Regions from separate parts of the Homo sapiens genome. Here region 1 is linked to region 2. Evidence: promoter capture Hi-C in human tissues and cell types (Jung and others, 2019). All regions are on one chromosome and are shown on one strand. Each heading gives the region's core, a stretch centred on a gene start or on the middle of the fragment in contact. The rest is flanking DNA. Distances are from core to core; before and after follow the strand shown.

What was found. Contacts are between HindIII fragments. The study calls those that stand out against the background at their distance.
Region 1: a fragment that was not itself captured here is called in contact with the fragment with the promoter of ZNF181 in region 2 in 2 of the 25 tissues and cell types used here (mesendoderm cells and thymus).

The regions. Positions count from the first base shown.
Region 1 is chr19:34,614,977-34,622,622 of GRCh38, forward strand. The region is part of intron 1 of SCGB2B2 (secretoglobin family 2B member 2); the gene reads right to left. It also overlaps the pseudogene ZNF807P and the pseudogene SCGB1B2P. Among named protein-coding and RNA genes, the nearest start is that of SCGB2B2, 58 kb to the right of the region's middle. The HindIII fragment of the contact is 3,723 bases long and covers 4,096-7,646 here.
Region 2 is chr19:34,732,599-34,740,072 of GRCh38, forward strand. ZNF181 (zinc finger protein 181) reads left to right here and starts at 1,645. Exons shown (of 4, transcript NM_001029997.4): 1 at 1,645-2,448; 2 at 6,550-6,670; 3 at 6,925-7,023. The coding sequence starts at 2,440. RefSeq lists enhancers at 493-552, 770-1,287, 1,008-1,397 and silencers at 1,678-1,727, 1,828-1,887. The HindIII fragment of the contact is 5,149 bases long and covers 1-3,437 here.

The DNA of each region.
Region 1 (7,646 bases), core at 4,707-7,206, 110 kb before region 2:
CTTCCAATTCTTATTTTTCTGCTCAGCACCACAGGGGAAGGGTGTAACAGCTGCTCAAAGCTCAGCTTGGGGATGTTAGGCCACTGGGCTGGAGTGCTTCAACAGTGGCTTAACCTCTGGCATGAAGGGGATCTGTGGCTATTAGCCCCCAGAACAAGATGCACTCCAGTCATAGTTCTAAATGTGAGATGGCACAGTGCAATAGCTGTATGGGCCACAGGGAGCAGGACACAGGGTGGGCTTCTTCTCTGGAAGGAACACAGCCATATATATATATGGACTCTAGGCAGCTTCCTCAGTCAGGCTTAGTGTCTAAAATACTCCAGTGGTGAGGTCTGTGGGTGTCCAATATGTTGATGGGGGTTATTGGGATCCTCTGGTTTACCTTCTCACTGAATTAGGAGAAGTTCCTTCTAATTCTCAGCTGATCATGTGTAGGGGATGGGACAGTGGAGGTCCAGCATTTTTTTTTTTTTTTCATTCTCAATGTAGGCATCCTGAGTTTCTGTGCTCATTAGAGTTTCTGTGACTTTTCTGATGCATTCCTGTACTCTCCTTCAAGTATGTAGTTGTTTATTCATATTCATACTGTCTTTGGGGGTTAGAAGCAATAAGAGCTTCTAGTCTGCCATGTTGCTGATGTTACTCCTGTAATTTTATTTTCTTGTAGTGTCTTTTGTGTGGATTTGGTATCAATCATGGTAATGGTGGCTTCATAAAATGTGTTTGAAAGTATTCTCTCTACTTCTATTTTTGGAAGAGTTTAAAATAGATTGGTTACATATGTATACATGTGCCATGCTGGTGTGCTGCACCCACTAACTCGTCATCTAGCATTAGGTATATCTCCCAATGCTATCCCTCCCCCCACCCCACAACAGTCCCCAGAGTGTGATGTTCCCCTTCCTGTGTCCATGTGTTCTCATTGTTCAATTCCCACCTATGAGTGAGAATACGTGGTGTTTGGTTTTTTGTTCTTGCAATAGTTTACTGAGAATGATGATTTCCAATTTCATCCATGTCCCTATAAAGGACATGAACTCATCATTTTTTATGGCTGCATAGTATTCCATGGTGTATATGTGCCACATTTTCTTAATCCAGTCTATCATTGTTGGACATTTGGGTTGGTTCCAAGTCTTTGCTATTGTGAATAGTGCTGCAATAAACATACGTGTGCATGTGTCTTTATAGCAGCATAATTTATAGTCCTTTGGGTATATACCCAGTAAAGGGATCACTGGGTCAAATGGTATTTCTAGTTCTAGATCCCTGAGGAATGGCCACACTGACTTACACAATGGTTGAACTAGTTTACAGTCCCACCGACAGGGTAAAAGTGTTCCTATTTCTCCACATCCTCTCCAGCACCTGTTGTTTCCTGACTTTTTAATGATCGCCATTCTAACTGGTGTGAGATGGTATCTCATTGTGGTTTTGATTTGCATTTCTCTGATGGCCAGTGATGGTGAGCATTTTTTCATGTGTTTTTTGGCTGCATAAATGTCTTCTTTTGAGAAGTGTCTGTTCATGTCCTTCGCCCACTTTTTGATGGGGTTGTTTTTTTCTTGTAAATTTGTTTGAGTTCATTGTAGATTCTGGATATTAGCCCTTTGTCAGATGAGTAGGTTGCGAAAATTTTCTCCCATTTTGTAGGTTGCCTGTTCACTGTGATGGTAGTTTCTTTTGCTGTGCAGAAGCTCTTTAGTTTAATTAGATCCCATTTGTCAATTTTGGCTTTTGTTGCCATTGCTTTTGGTGTTTTAGACATGAAGTCCTTGCCCATGCCTATGTCCTGAATGGTATTGCCTAGGTTTTCTTCTAGGGTTTTTATGGTTTTAGGTCTAAGGTTTAAGTCTTTAATCCATCTTGAATTAATTTTTGTATAAGGTGTAAGGAAGGGATCCAGTTTCAGCTTTCTACATATGGCTAGCCAGTTTTCCCAGCACCATTTATTAAACAGGGAATCCTTTCCCCATTGCTTGTTTTTCTTAGTTTTGTCAAAGATCAGATAGTTGTAGATATGCGGCATTATTTCTGAGGGCTCTGTTCTGTTCCATTGATCTATATCTCTGTTTTGGTACCAGTACCATGCTGTTTTGGTTATGTAGCCTTGCAGTATAGTTTGAAGTCAGGTAGTGTGATGCCTCCAGCTTTGTTCTTTTGGCTTAGGATTGACTTGGCGATGTGGGCTCTTTTTTGCTTCCATATGAACTTTAAAGTAGTTTTTTCCAATTCTTTGAAGAAAGTCATTGGTAGCTTGATGAGGATGGCATTGAATCTGTAAATTACCTTGGGCAGTATGGCCATTTTCACGACATTGATTCTTCCTACCCATGAGCATGGAATGTTCTTCCATTTGTTTGTATCCTCTTTTATTTCATTGAGCAGTGGTTTGTAGTTCTCCTTAAAGAGGTCCTTCACATCCCTTGTAAGTTGGATTCCTAGGTATTTTATTCTCTTTGAAGCAATTGTGAATGGGAGTTCACTCATGATTTGGCTCTCTGTTTGTCTGTTGTTGGTGTATAAGAATGCTTGTGATTTTTGTACATTGATTTTGTATCCTGAGACTTTGCTGAAGTTGCTTATCAGCTTAAGGAGATTTTGGGCTGAGACAATGGGGTTTTCAAGATATACAATCATGTCATCTGCAAACAGGGACAATTTGACTTCCTCTTTTCCTAACTGAATACCCTTTATTTCGTTCTTCTGCCTCATTGCCCTGGCTAGAACTTCCAACACTATGTTGAATAGGAGTGGTGAGAGAGGACATCCCTGTCTTGTGCCAGTTTTCAAAGGGAATGCTTCCAGTTTTTGCCCATTCAGTATGATATTGGCTGTGGGTTTGTCATAGATAGCTCTTATTATTTTGAAATCGTTGGAAAAGCGCAGTATTCGGGTGGGAGTGACCCGATTTTCCAGGTGCCGTCTGTCACCCCTTTCTTTGACTAGGAAAGGGAACTCCCTGACCCCTTGCGCTTCCCGAGTGAGGCAATGCCTCGCCCTGCTTCGGCTCGTGCACGGTGCGTGCACCCACTGACCTGTGCCCACTGTCTGGCACTCCCTAGTGAGATGAACCCGGTACCTCAGATGGAAATGCAGAAATCACTCGTCTTCTGCATCACTCACGCTGGGAGCTGTAGACCGGAGCTGTTCCTACTCGGCCATCTTGGCTCCTCCCCCGCATGTGTCTTTATGGTAGAATGATTTATAGCCCTTTGGATTTATACCCAGTAATGGGATTGCTGGGTTTGAATGGTTAAATCCAATTCTTAATAAAAGCTTATAAAGAAATCTATCCAATCTTAACTAGTTTGACCATAATGCAAACTTTTTATAAACCTTTTACAACCCTTTACAATTTTCTGTTGAACAGCAGATTAATTCTATAAGAAAAACCTGTTACTCAAATACATGGGCCCAGATTCTGGCCCTGTATCAGTGTGCTTTTATTTTATTGTTTAACCTACAGAGAAATTAAATAATGCCCTTCAAATCTTAGCCAACTTTCTCATACCCGCAGACTTTCCTTCACAAGATTAATGCTTCACAAATTCTTCACAACTTGCTTGAACCTTTAGTTTTTTTCCCCCATTACTCTTTTAGGTTAGGACAATCCTTAAAAACTGCTGAACTAGACAAAATTACATCTTTTTAACAAAAGTCATACTCCCATACCTTTTATCACCTTTTACCAAAATCACACTTTACCTTCCTTACACACCCTGCATGTGAAACTCTTTCTTCAGTAGTTTCAAGCACATGTTATAATATTAACTTTTAGCAACTCTTATTTTTGGTGGAAAAGATGGTAAACAAGCAATTTTAACCATGTATCAGATTGCAGATCTCAGGATGAGGATAGAGCTGCAGATAGTGTCCAACTCTCCCAAACTTAGCCAGGGGACCTGGCCTAAGCCTTACCTAAAATCTAATGGCTATAAAACAGACAAGTCAAACAATTATTTAAAGTCATAGAAGCAGTTTATGGCCTTAAAACACATGGCAAACAGGTTCAGCCTGCCTACTTTAGACCAAATGTCTAAATTTTGAATATATTTATTTTATTTTACCAATAATCTTTTACATTGTCTTTTTTAAAGAAATTAGAGTCCCATGACCTAAATCCATTAAAGTTTCTATTTTTTTCTGACAATATGTTTAAGTGCTTATATTTAGGACAATTAATTACAGCTCTTTTACACCACACACGTAACACACATAATACACAGACAAAAACGGAGATCCAAGACAGAATTTCATCAATAAAGAAATCTTTAGAGGGAGAGTGGGGGCTTTAAAACAATATTCACGCATATATAGGCCAAATATCAGCTTTAATTAAGTCAACTTTTAAGTATAGAGATCTTAAGATTCTTTAAAAATCTTTTATTACCAGCTTTTAGCCAAGACAAAGGGCCAATATTTCTGGCTTTTGAATTTTTTTTACTAAAGGCAACCTTCTACATGAAATCAGTAAGTCTTAACTAAGAGGATGGTAACCTTGGATGCATGAAGTGTCTCCAAAGAGATGGCAAGCGATGGGCAAAGAGACGGCAAGCAATTTTTATGAGATGTAGAATCTCCCCAAAGGTAGTTCAGGAAAAAGAAAATTTCAAGACACGAAATCAGAAGCTGTCCACAAAGAGGAAAGGAAGCAATAAATGGCAAAAAGTCAAACACACATAAAATCAGAAAAGACTGATTCCCTAAGCCAGGAATTGAACCCAGGCCACCAGCATGAAAAGACAAAAACCTTAACTACTGAGCACAAGGTGACTGAAATTGCTTTTCCTGAAAGGAATCTTGAGCAGTTATTTTTGAAGTTGCAAAGGATTTTAACTATTCAAGAGAATTAAGGTGAGAATTAACATAATAATGTCCCTTTTTTAGACCCAAGAATCAAAGCTTTGTAACTCAACTGCACAGGGCTTTAAAGGCAATACAGAAAGTTACTTGGATGAATAACCTTTTCAAGTGCACAACTGGAATTAACTTTTAGATAACTTTTGAATTAGATAAAATTATTCTTTTTTAAAAAAAAATAGAACACATTTTCCTTGGCACATTTTATGTAAACCCAGGAAGCAAGAAATCCTAAATTGCCTATCAGATACTAGCATTTTATAGATGAGCACCATTCTACAATTTTGGAACGTGTTCTCAATATAATAATCTTTTCTTAATTGGAAATGACCCAGGTATATACCCAAAGAATTATAAATCACTTTACTATAAAGACACATGTACACATATGTTTATTGTGGCACTATTCACAATAGCAAAGACTTGGAACCAACCCAAATGTCCATCAATGATAGACTAGATTAAGAAAATGTGGCACATATACACCATGGAATATTATGCAGCCATAAAAAAGGATGAGTTCATGTCCTTTGTAGGGACATGGATGAAGCTGGAAACCATCATTCTGAGCAAACTATTGCAAGGACAGAAAACCAAACACTGCATGTTCTCACTCATAGGTGGGAATTGAACAATGAGAACACTTGGACATAGGGTGGGGTACATCACACACCAGGGTGGGGGGAGGGGGGAGGGATTGCATTAGGAGATATACCTAATGTAAATGACAAGTTAATGGGTGCAGCACACCAACATGGAACATGTATACATATGTAACAAACCTGCACGTTGTGCACATGTACCCTAGAACTTAAAGTATATATTTTAAAAAGTCAGATGAATTTTCTGCCTAGGAAAAAGCATTTAAATTATAATTCATAGTTCCAATGAGTTGGCAGTGAAATTGGGGCCATGAGATGTTCCAGCAGCGATGGAGATGGGGCAAATCTTATAGTATTAACATCACACCATTTGGCAATAATGTCAAAAGTTACAAAAATACTTGAAATCAGTAATTATGAGAATGTATACTGGGAAAACTTTCAAAATAAATTCAATCTATATGCAAAAAAAGAGAATGTTCCAATACTTGAAATCAGTAATTATGTTTATGAGAATGTATACTGGGAAAACTTTCAAAATAAATTCAAGCTATATGCAAAAAAAAGAGAATGTTCCTATTCCTTATTTATAATCCTTAAATAGTGTTCCTATTCCTGAAAGATTAAAGTCGCATGAAGTAAAAGGCATTACAGCTTTTATTTTTCCTTCAAAAAATATTTTATCTAAGTGCTTATTTTTAAAGCCAGTTAATTATAACTTTTTTTGTATAACCATTACACACATAACATATATATGACTACACAGACAGAAGAAAACCCAGCAGTTGTAAGGTTTTTTTGTTCGTCAATTTTCTAATTGGATTATTGGCCTCAGGGTGGAGCTCTTTAAGAACAGGGCTAGGAAAGCATACAGTTTCTAGGGCCTAATAAACAGGCATACCTGAAAGGCAAAAAGAGATTTTGAGTGGGTTATATTCACCTCTAATTCTTGGGGTTTCATGAGGAAAAGAGAGATGTCTCACAAAATGGAATCCTTGGCATTTTTTTTTTTTCCCCAAGGAGTCCCAGGCCATCAGAAGCTATCTAGGGCCTTTCATACATGCACTGACTGGCAAGACAAAGTGGAGAAAAGTAATTTAGTCAACTGAGAAAAAAAAAAACCTTTTCAGAAAAACAAGATCCAAGGAGAGAAAAACATAAAAATCTTTTAAATATATCTATAACTTGGATATCCTCTTTTAATTAAGCTGAGCATTCTTTAAGAATATCCTTTTTCATTAATTAAAACTTTACAGGGAATATAAACAATGATTCTTATCATTCCTTTCACTGGTTTGCACAGGGACAGAGAGGCCAAAAGTCTGACTGTAAAAAAACTTTTATCCTTTTACCAGCATGTCTGGCTTCTGGGTTTTCTAGGGGAGTTTCTTTGAGGTCCTCCTTGGCTGCATAGGTTTGCATGACTGTTCAAAGCCATATTCAGGTTCTTCAGTTTCCTCTGGGAGGAAAGTGTCTGGGTTCAGGCAAGGACAGGTTTTTTTAACTGGACTGTAGATTCCTCTAACAGCAGAGCCTGATCTTTGAGGAGGTGATTATCTGTTGGCCAGGGACTTCTCTTAGAAGACAGCAGTTCTGCCGCATTATGTGGGTTATATACAGTTAAGTCATTCCTCATGGTTAACTTGGTGGCCACTGACACCAGTAAAGCCACTGCTGTAACTGCTCAGAGGCAAGCTGGCCGTACTTTAGCCATCAACTCAAGCTCCTTGCTTAGGTAACCTACTGGCTGTTGAGCTGGACCTTGAGCCTGAGTTAAAACTCCCAGGGCCATTCTCTTCCTTTTTGCTACATAGAGACTGAATGTCTTTCCTATGGGAAGACTAAGGGCTGGTGCTTTAAGCAAGGCTTGTTTTAACTGGTTAAAGCCTTTTTGAGCCCCAGGTTCCCAAGTCAGGGACTGAGTTTTAGCTGCTTGCATTTCTTTTATGAGGTGGTATAAAGGGCGAGTTATCTCACTGTACCTGGGTATTCCTAGTTTGCAAAATTCAATAATGCCTAAGAATCCCTTCAGATGTTTAAGCATTTTGGGAAGGGCAAAGAGGAAATGGGCTTAATCATTTCCTTACCTAGTGCTCTTGTTCCTTCTGACAGGACTAGATATAGGTACTTTACTGAAGTTTGAAAGAGCTGAGCCTTAAATTTTGAAACCCTATATCC
Region 2 (7,474 bases), core at 395-2,894:
ATGTCATGCAGGTGAGGATACTTGTGTGCCAGGTAACCTCAGGCAGGCATGGTGGCGCTTGTGGGGCAATCCTGTAACCTGCAGTGTGGTGGGTGGGATGGGTGTGTGTGACACAGGCAGGAACTACTCCTGATGGCAGCTGACGACCCACATGTGTACTGGGTGGGTGCCAATGGGAGTAGCAGGTGAGTGGCTGAGCACAGGCAGGTGAATGAGTGACAGCTACACAAACCCCACCACTGAGCACGTCCCTCCCAGGGCAAAGCAGATCAGATCACAGGCCCAGCCCTGGGAGGCCCAGAGGAGCCTCAGGTCCTCAGGAAGGCTCCTGGCCCTCTTCGCCCTAGGAGGACCCCCCCCCCGCCCCAAGCCGGCTCCACCTGTAGCTGTGGGCGTGGGAGGGAGACAGAGCGCTCTGGCGGCCAGAGAAGGAAGGAAGATGGAGGGAGGGCGGACTTCTGCTCCCTGACGCTGCTGCTAGGCCCCCTGCGGCCCTCCTGGAGCCCACACCTTTCAGCTGCAGTCTCCCAGCCTTCGTCCCCAGGACGAAGCCCACTAAGCCAGTGCTTTTCCACTGCAGCTGGCTGTTCCGCTTGGGGAGGGTTCCCAGATTGTGCAAAGTGAGGAAGGGTCCCCTGTCCCTGCCCCGCAGGGCCCCCACTCCAGGCCTCCCCCATCTCTCCCTGTCTCTCTCAGAGGTAGAGGCAGCATTAAATTAAAATTTAATTAAAATATTAAAAATAAAGTAAAAAATTCAAATATACAACAGTAGACTGTCTGGCTTGCATACAAAGAAGGCCATTGCCCCTTTGGGTGAGCCGGGCAAGGTCAGGGTCTAAGAAGCGCCTCTGGTGAGAAGCGGTTGTCAGGCTCTGATGGCTGCGGGAGGAGTGACTCCTCCCAGGATGAGGGTCTGTGTCCTCTCAGTGCTCACTCAAGTTCCGTATTTCCAAGTCCTTCCAGGGGGCGTAACGCACGTGAGAACTGCCATTTCTGTCACAGATACGTGGCCGCATGCATTTCCAGGAAATGTCCTTGGTTCGCGAACTACAGCTGGCACAATCCAGCCCAGGGCGTTCTGTGAGCTGTAGTCTCCAGCAAGTGAATTCCAAAAAAACCTCAAAGACCTCAAAGACCATACAGGGTGGACAGCGTAGTAGCAGGGTTTGGGAAGAGAGGAGCTCTTTTGCTAGCAAAGGCGAGAGCTCGCCTGGTACAAGGTCTGCCCACGTCCCGGGAGATAAACATTAGTGTGAGCGCACGCTAGACCCAGAAGAGTTTGCCACGGCCGCACGGTTTTCTGGGAAGTGTAGTTTCTTGGTCCCGGCGCCATTGTCCTTAAAAGTAGAGGGTGGCCCTTGGTTCCGAGGTGTATCTTTCACCTCATCAGTATGACTATATGCCCCAGGACACTTCCCGCATGGTCCTAACTGCCGGGCTCTGGGACGACAGCCCCAGGCGGTTTAGTTTTTTAGGAAACCGAGATCTGTTTGCCCGCGGCGCCCCAGGTCCGCGCGGCCGCAGAGACTCCTGGGAAGTGTGGTCTTCCGGTACCTGCGGTTCGTTGCGCCTGGAATTTTGTCCCCTGCGCGGATGATTCTGGGAAATGTCGATCGGCTGTGGGCGGCGCACTGGGTCCGCCCCGCTGTAGCCTCAGGCCTGACGGCGACTCCCAGGCTCCGGGACGATTCTGGGCAGTGTCGTCCCCAGAGGTCGGCGGCCGTTGCCCGCTCACCAGCGACGCGGGGCGCCTGCGGGGACGGTGAGGCCCTGCTGAGGACTCCGGCCAGTATGAGTCCCGGGGGCGGCGGCGGGGCTCAGGCCCTGGGTCTGCCCCGCGGTGTGACCCCGGCCGGTGCCTTGGTTTTCCTGGCCTTCATGTCCTCCTATGTAAACGCGGGGTGATGACGGCGCCGACCTCTTGGCGCTGTTGTGAGAGTGAAGTGGGCGCGTGGTTAGACGCCAGCCACAGTTGTCTTTGGGTTATGTCGTCATGAAGCCGGCGCTCTACAGTTGTGTAACCTTGAACAAATGGGTTCAGTATCTTGGAATTTCAGTTTTGTCATCGTTTAAAAAATAGATCTGGAAAAATGTGAACGCACACCGTGCATAGTGGTGAAGACTGAACGAGCTGATAAAGTTTTTACCATTGTTTTATGAGGATTTTATTTACAGAGTAATTGATTTTCCTCGCAGGTGGCACCTGGTAAATGGTTAGCCCTTGCGGAGAAACACCCTGTTAGTTCCCAGGGAGAGATTGGCGCCCTGGAGAGTGATTACCAGTGTGCCTTTCCATTATGGTGTGTCACAGGTGCCGCAAGATAAGCCTGATTTTTCATGACTGCTTTTTCCTGCCCTTCTGTGCCCTCAGGACACTGCCCATCTCTAAGATAAGAGCCTGGAAAGAGGACTCTGTTGGCTGTTGGAAATTGCAGAGTAATGCCTCAGGTAGGTCGGTGTGTCCGCAAATCTTCCTGAAACACTTTATCAGGACTGTGTGTTTGCTTTGCTTCTCCTGCCTGTTCCCACCTAACCAAGTCCATTTAAGGGACTGGATCCATGGTTCCTTTCAGTATAGGAAGGACGGAGCCCACAGGAGAGCTCCAAGGTATTATCCTCCTCACCCAGTGTTCCTCTTTTCTACAGTTTTCTGCTAGAAGACTTTCTAGTCTTGCCAACATTTTAAAACTGTAATTCACAATGCAACTTTGGAATGTAAGGTTATTCGGTTTATGGTTGTCAAAACTGTACCATGTGGTCTCAAGTGAAGAGATGCTTGCAGTCATCCTTGATTCTTCCCTTTGACTTATACCTATATTCAGATCCTCTAGTTGGAGCTAAGCTATACACTGTATACAGAATCTGACCATTAGTTACCCCAGCACTACCACCACCACTACCACCCCGGTAGTGATAGCAATAAAGCCACCTGGATTATTGCGGTAGCCTCCTAGCTGGATTCCCTGCATCTGCCCTTAACCCTCATCAGTCTGTTCTCAGTACAGCTGTGACCGTGGTCCTATTGTTACATAAATTCCTGTCATTCCTCAACCTATAATTTTTCAGTGGCTCTAACTGAGTCACTTCTGCAATGACCTATTTGTACAATTAGGCCATTACCTTTCTGATCCCACCTTCCTTCTCTGCCTCCTCATTCCTGTGAGCTCTAGCCACTGTCACTAGTTGCTGTGCCATCGACGTGGAATATTCTTCCCCCACATACGCACAAACTTGCATCCTTATCTTCTTCGTGTGTTTGTTCCGTGGTTACTTTCTCAGAAAAGCTTCCCTGAATGGCTATTTGCAATCGCAGTCACCTTCCCTCGCCTAGCACTTCCACTCCTCCATCACTGCTTTGTTGTTTTCCACAGTGTGTGTCACTCACTAGCTGATGTACTGTATGTTCAGTATATGCACATGCTCATTGTCTGTTCCTGGTGGGAGGAATCTTTTTTCTTTTTTGTTGTCTGTTATAGCTTCAGTACCCAGAGGGTTACCTGGCACCAAATAGATGCTTAGTAAGTAATTGTGGAGTGAATAAGATGAGTAATGACGAACTGGTGGGGCAGAATCATGGCATGGAAGGTGAAGCTTGCATAGGAGGGGATGTGAGTAGCAGATGTACATGTTGGGTGAAGTCTGTTTTCTTGGAGAAGTTAGATAATTAGAATTGAAAAACTGGTGTGGTGGTACATGCCTGTTTTTCCAGCTATTCGGGAGGGTGATGAGTTGAGAAAATTTCTTGAACCCTGTGGTGTGCGGCTGCAGTGAGCTATGATTATGTCACTGCACTCCAGCCTGGCGGCAGAGCAAGAAAAAAGTAACAGCTAAAGTGAACTAATGCCAAAATCATTCATTGGTTCATCTTCTAAACACTTAGGAAGTATCTGTTAGGAAAAGTTGTACATGGATTTTGGTGTACACTGACACACAGGACTTCATGATCTAGTGCAGTATTGTCTAAGAGAACTTTCTGCAGTGGTGGAAGTGCTCTGCATGTGTACTGGTCAGTACAGTAGCCACCAGCCCTGTATGACTATTGAGTACTTGAACTGTGGCTTAAGCAACTGAGAAACTGAATTTTAAACTTTACTTATTTTATTTTTACATTTTAATTAATTTAAATGTATGTAGCCAAATTGCCTAGTGGCTACTGTATTGAGGATTGCAGCACTGGTAGAAAAGTAAGAAAGCATAAGAAATTAAAATAAATGCCAGGACAGATAGGCTATGTTCTTTTGGGGACAGAGATGAGTGAACACCCCAGGCTGCCCAGACAACTGAAGGGGAAGAAGGAAGCATCCCTGGCTCTAACTTGTAATAACCTGTTCATCATAAAGCTATGAGAAATGTTTTTTTGATTTGGGATAAAGGGAATTAACTAACACAGTGGCAACTCCAATTAACAGGTGAATTTAGGATAAATTATGTGTAGCAAATTGAACTGTAAGGTCTTACTTGATTATTTGGAAAATGTATGTATTGGATTGTATCTGCTTGGCTATAAAAAAGAGATTTCTTCCTGTCCTTTTAATCTCATTAGTGGATTGCCTGTGAAGTGCATCACAGTTGATTTAGTGATTATTAAGTAATAAAACTGTGTTCTTTTTTTCTACATTTGTGGAGAGGATTTTCTGCCATTGGCAGGAGATTTGAATTTTAATTATTTTCCCAACACCTGGCAAAAATAAATTCTGCCTTTAAAACCAAAGACGAGTATCACTGGTGAACATGCATGCAAAATATCCAAATAATGTAATACAATGCTGAATTAACTCTCAGAGCTAAAAAATTACCACAGGCAAGCAGTCTGTTTCACAAATCAAAGACAGTAATAATGCTGTATTAAATAGATGTATTTTTTGTACATATTATAATTTGACTAGCCAATAAACTATTATTGAATATTTAAGCTTCCAAAGTTTTACTAAAAAGTAATATTGTGAAATGAGTACTATTGAAAGGAATTTCTAAGCCACATCTGTGAACATTTCCTTATTTTCTTTGAAACGTACCCCTTTATTTTTTTCCCTTTACTTTCAGGTCTTATTTAAGGACTATCTAAGGCAGTGGTGCCCAACCTTTTTGGCACCAGGGATCGGTTTTGTGGAAGACAGTTTTTCCACAGAAGCAGGAGGTGGTGGTTTGGGGGTGAAACTGTTTCACCTCAGATCATCAGGCATTAGTTCAATTCACATAAGGGGCGTGCAACCTTAATCCCTTGCATGCGCACTTCACAGTAGGGATTGCGCTCCTATGAGAGTCTAATGCCATAGCTGATCTGACAGGAGGCAGGGCTCAGGTGATAAAAGTCATTTGCCTGCCACTCATCTCCTGCTCTGTGGCCTGATTTCTAACAGGCCACAGACTGGTACCAGTGGTTATGTACCCCTAACCATCAGGGGATTAGGGACCCCTGATCTATGGCATGAAACCATCCTTCAGTCTTTTCACCCAGGGGTCTCATATTTTAATAATTGTCTATCAGTACAAAGTTTAAGTATACACCATAAATATATTTTTCTTTTTTGTTTATGAATCAGTTATGTGTATATTTTAGTCCATTGGTGCTGCTATAACAGAATACCACAGACTGAGTAATAGAAATTGACTTCTCATGGTTTTGGAGCCTGGGAAGTCCAAGATCAAGGGGCAGGCATCCAGCAAGGGCCTTCTTGCTGTGTCCTTTTATGGTGGAAGGGCGAAGAGAAGAGAGAGAACCAAAAAGGGGCCCAAACTCATTTTTTAAATAAGGAAGTCACTCCTAATGATGATGACATTAATCCATTCATGAGGGCAGAGCCCTCAAGGCCTAATCATCTCCTAAGGTCTCACCTCTCAAAACTGTTACAGCGGCGATTAAGTTCAATACACGCGTTTTGGGGGTCACAATCAAACCATAACAGTGTATGTCTATTAGTCTTTAATATAAAGGTTTTTTTTTTGTTTTTGTTTTTTTTTTTGAGACAGAGTCTTGTTCTATTACCCAGGCTGGAGTGCAGTGGCGCAACCTCCGCCTCTTGGGTTCAAGCCATTCTCCTGCCTCAGCCTCCCAAGTAGTTGGGATTACAGGTGTGAGCCACCACACCCAGCTGCCCATTTTTTGTGAGCCTTAGTGGATCATCCTGAGTATCCCATTTGAGAGACAATCACTTTACCCTCATTTTTTAATTACTTACCTAGCAGTTAAGCTGTAAAAGATATAACTAAATACTTGACTCTGTGCTGTCAAATGTCAAATGCTGATTTTTAAAAATTCATGTATTTCTGTAACTTTTAGCAAAATTAACTCTACTGAAGCAAAGCTCTCATATTTGTTTCTCACCTTTATTGTATAATAATTCTAAGCACATAACTGTCCCCCTTATTGTATAGTAATTCCAACTACATAACTGTCCTATTATTACTTAACTGAGATCACATTCCCAATCATTGCCACAACTCCTGAATCTTGTTCCATTTCTCCCACAACCAGGCTAATTTTACCCTTTCTTCAGTGACAGAAGAGGCCTGGGCTATGGCTGAGCCTAAATATGTTTGCTATTTCAGGTGACATTTAATGATGTGGCTATAGACTTCACTCATGAAGAGTGGGGATGGCTCAGTTCTGCTCAGAGGGACTTATACAAGGATGTGATGGTCCAGAATTATGAGAACCTGGTCTCTGTAGGTAAGGATATTACCCCTTCCACTCCAGTAGGGGACACCTTTCTTTTGCCACCCTGAATTGCTGGAGACCCTCCTAAGTAAATGGCTGAATTTCTGTAGCATGTTCCCAAGGAAATGTGCAGCTCTGTTGTGCCCTGCCTGAAGCTTATCTTTCCATTTCGATGAATACCCTTCATCCCTTCCTGTGGTCCCTCTTGTGATGGCCTCTCATAATAGAGGACCACGGCTTAAACAATTCTGTATTCTTCCTGTAAGCAGGTCTTTCTGTAACTAAGCCATATGTGATCACGTTATTGGAGGATGGAAAAGAGCCCTGGATGATGGAGAAAAAACTGTCAAAAGGTATGATTCCAGGTGAGTCATGGTGAACGAGACAAAGGAAGATTTTGTTAAAAAGGGTCCCAAACTCTTTATAGTGAGTTTATAGTGAGTGTGGAGGCATTTTAGGTATACTGTTTTCAAAGATCTCAGATAGAAATGAAAAATTGTGGGATATTTAGCTTAGATTTTCAAAACAATTGTTCCTCTATCCCAAATTATTATCTGTATCACTCATGTCATCCAATCAAGGTTAGAGGTTTTTGCCTTCATAATAATTCAATTGTTACTCTATTCATAACAGTAAGGCAAATTATTCTTTCTTAAATCTACTTAAAGAAAAACATACTGATAGTTTTAGGCTAAGAAAAGCTGTCAATTAGATGGGAAATCACTTTTCTAAAGCTGAGCGTTGTAGATGAAATATGAACATATTAGAGGAAAAAATGAACATATATAAATATGTTTCTAGGAATATTTTCTAATG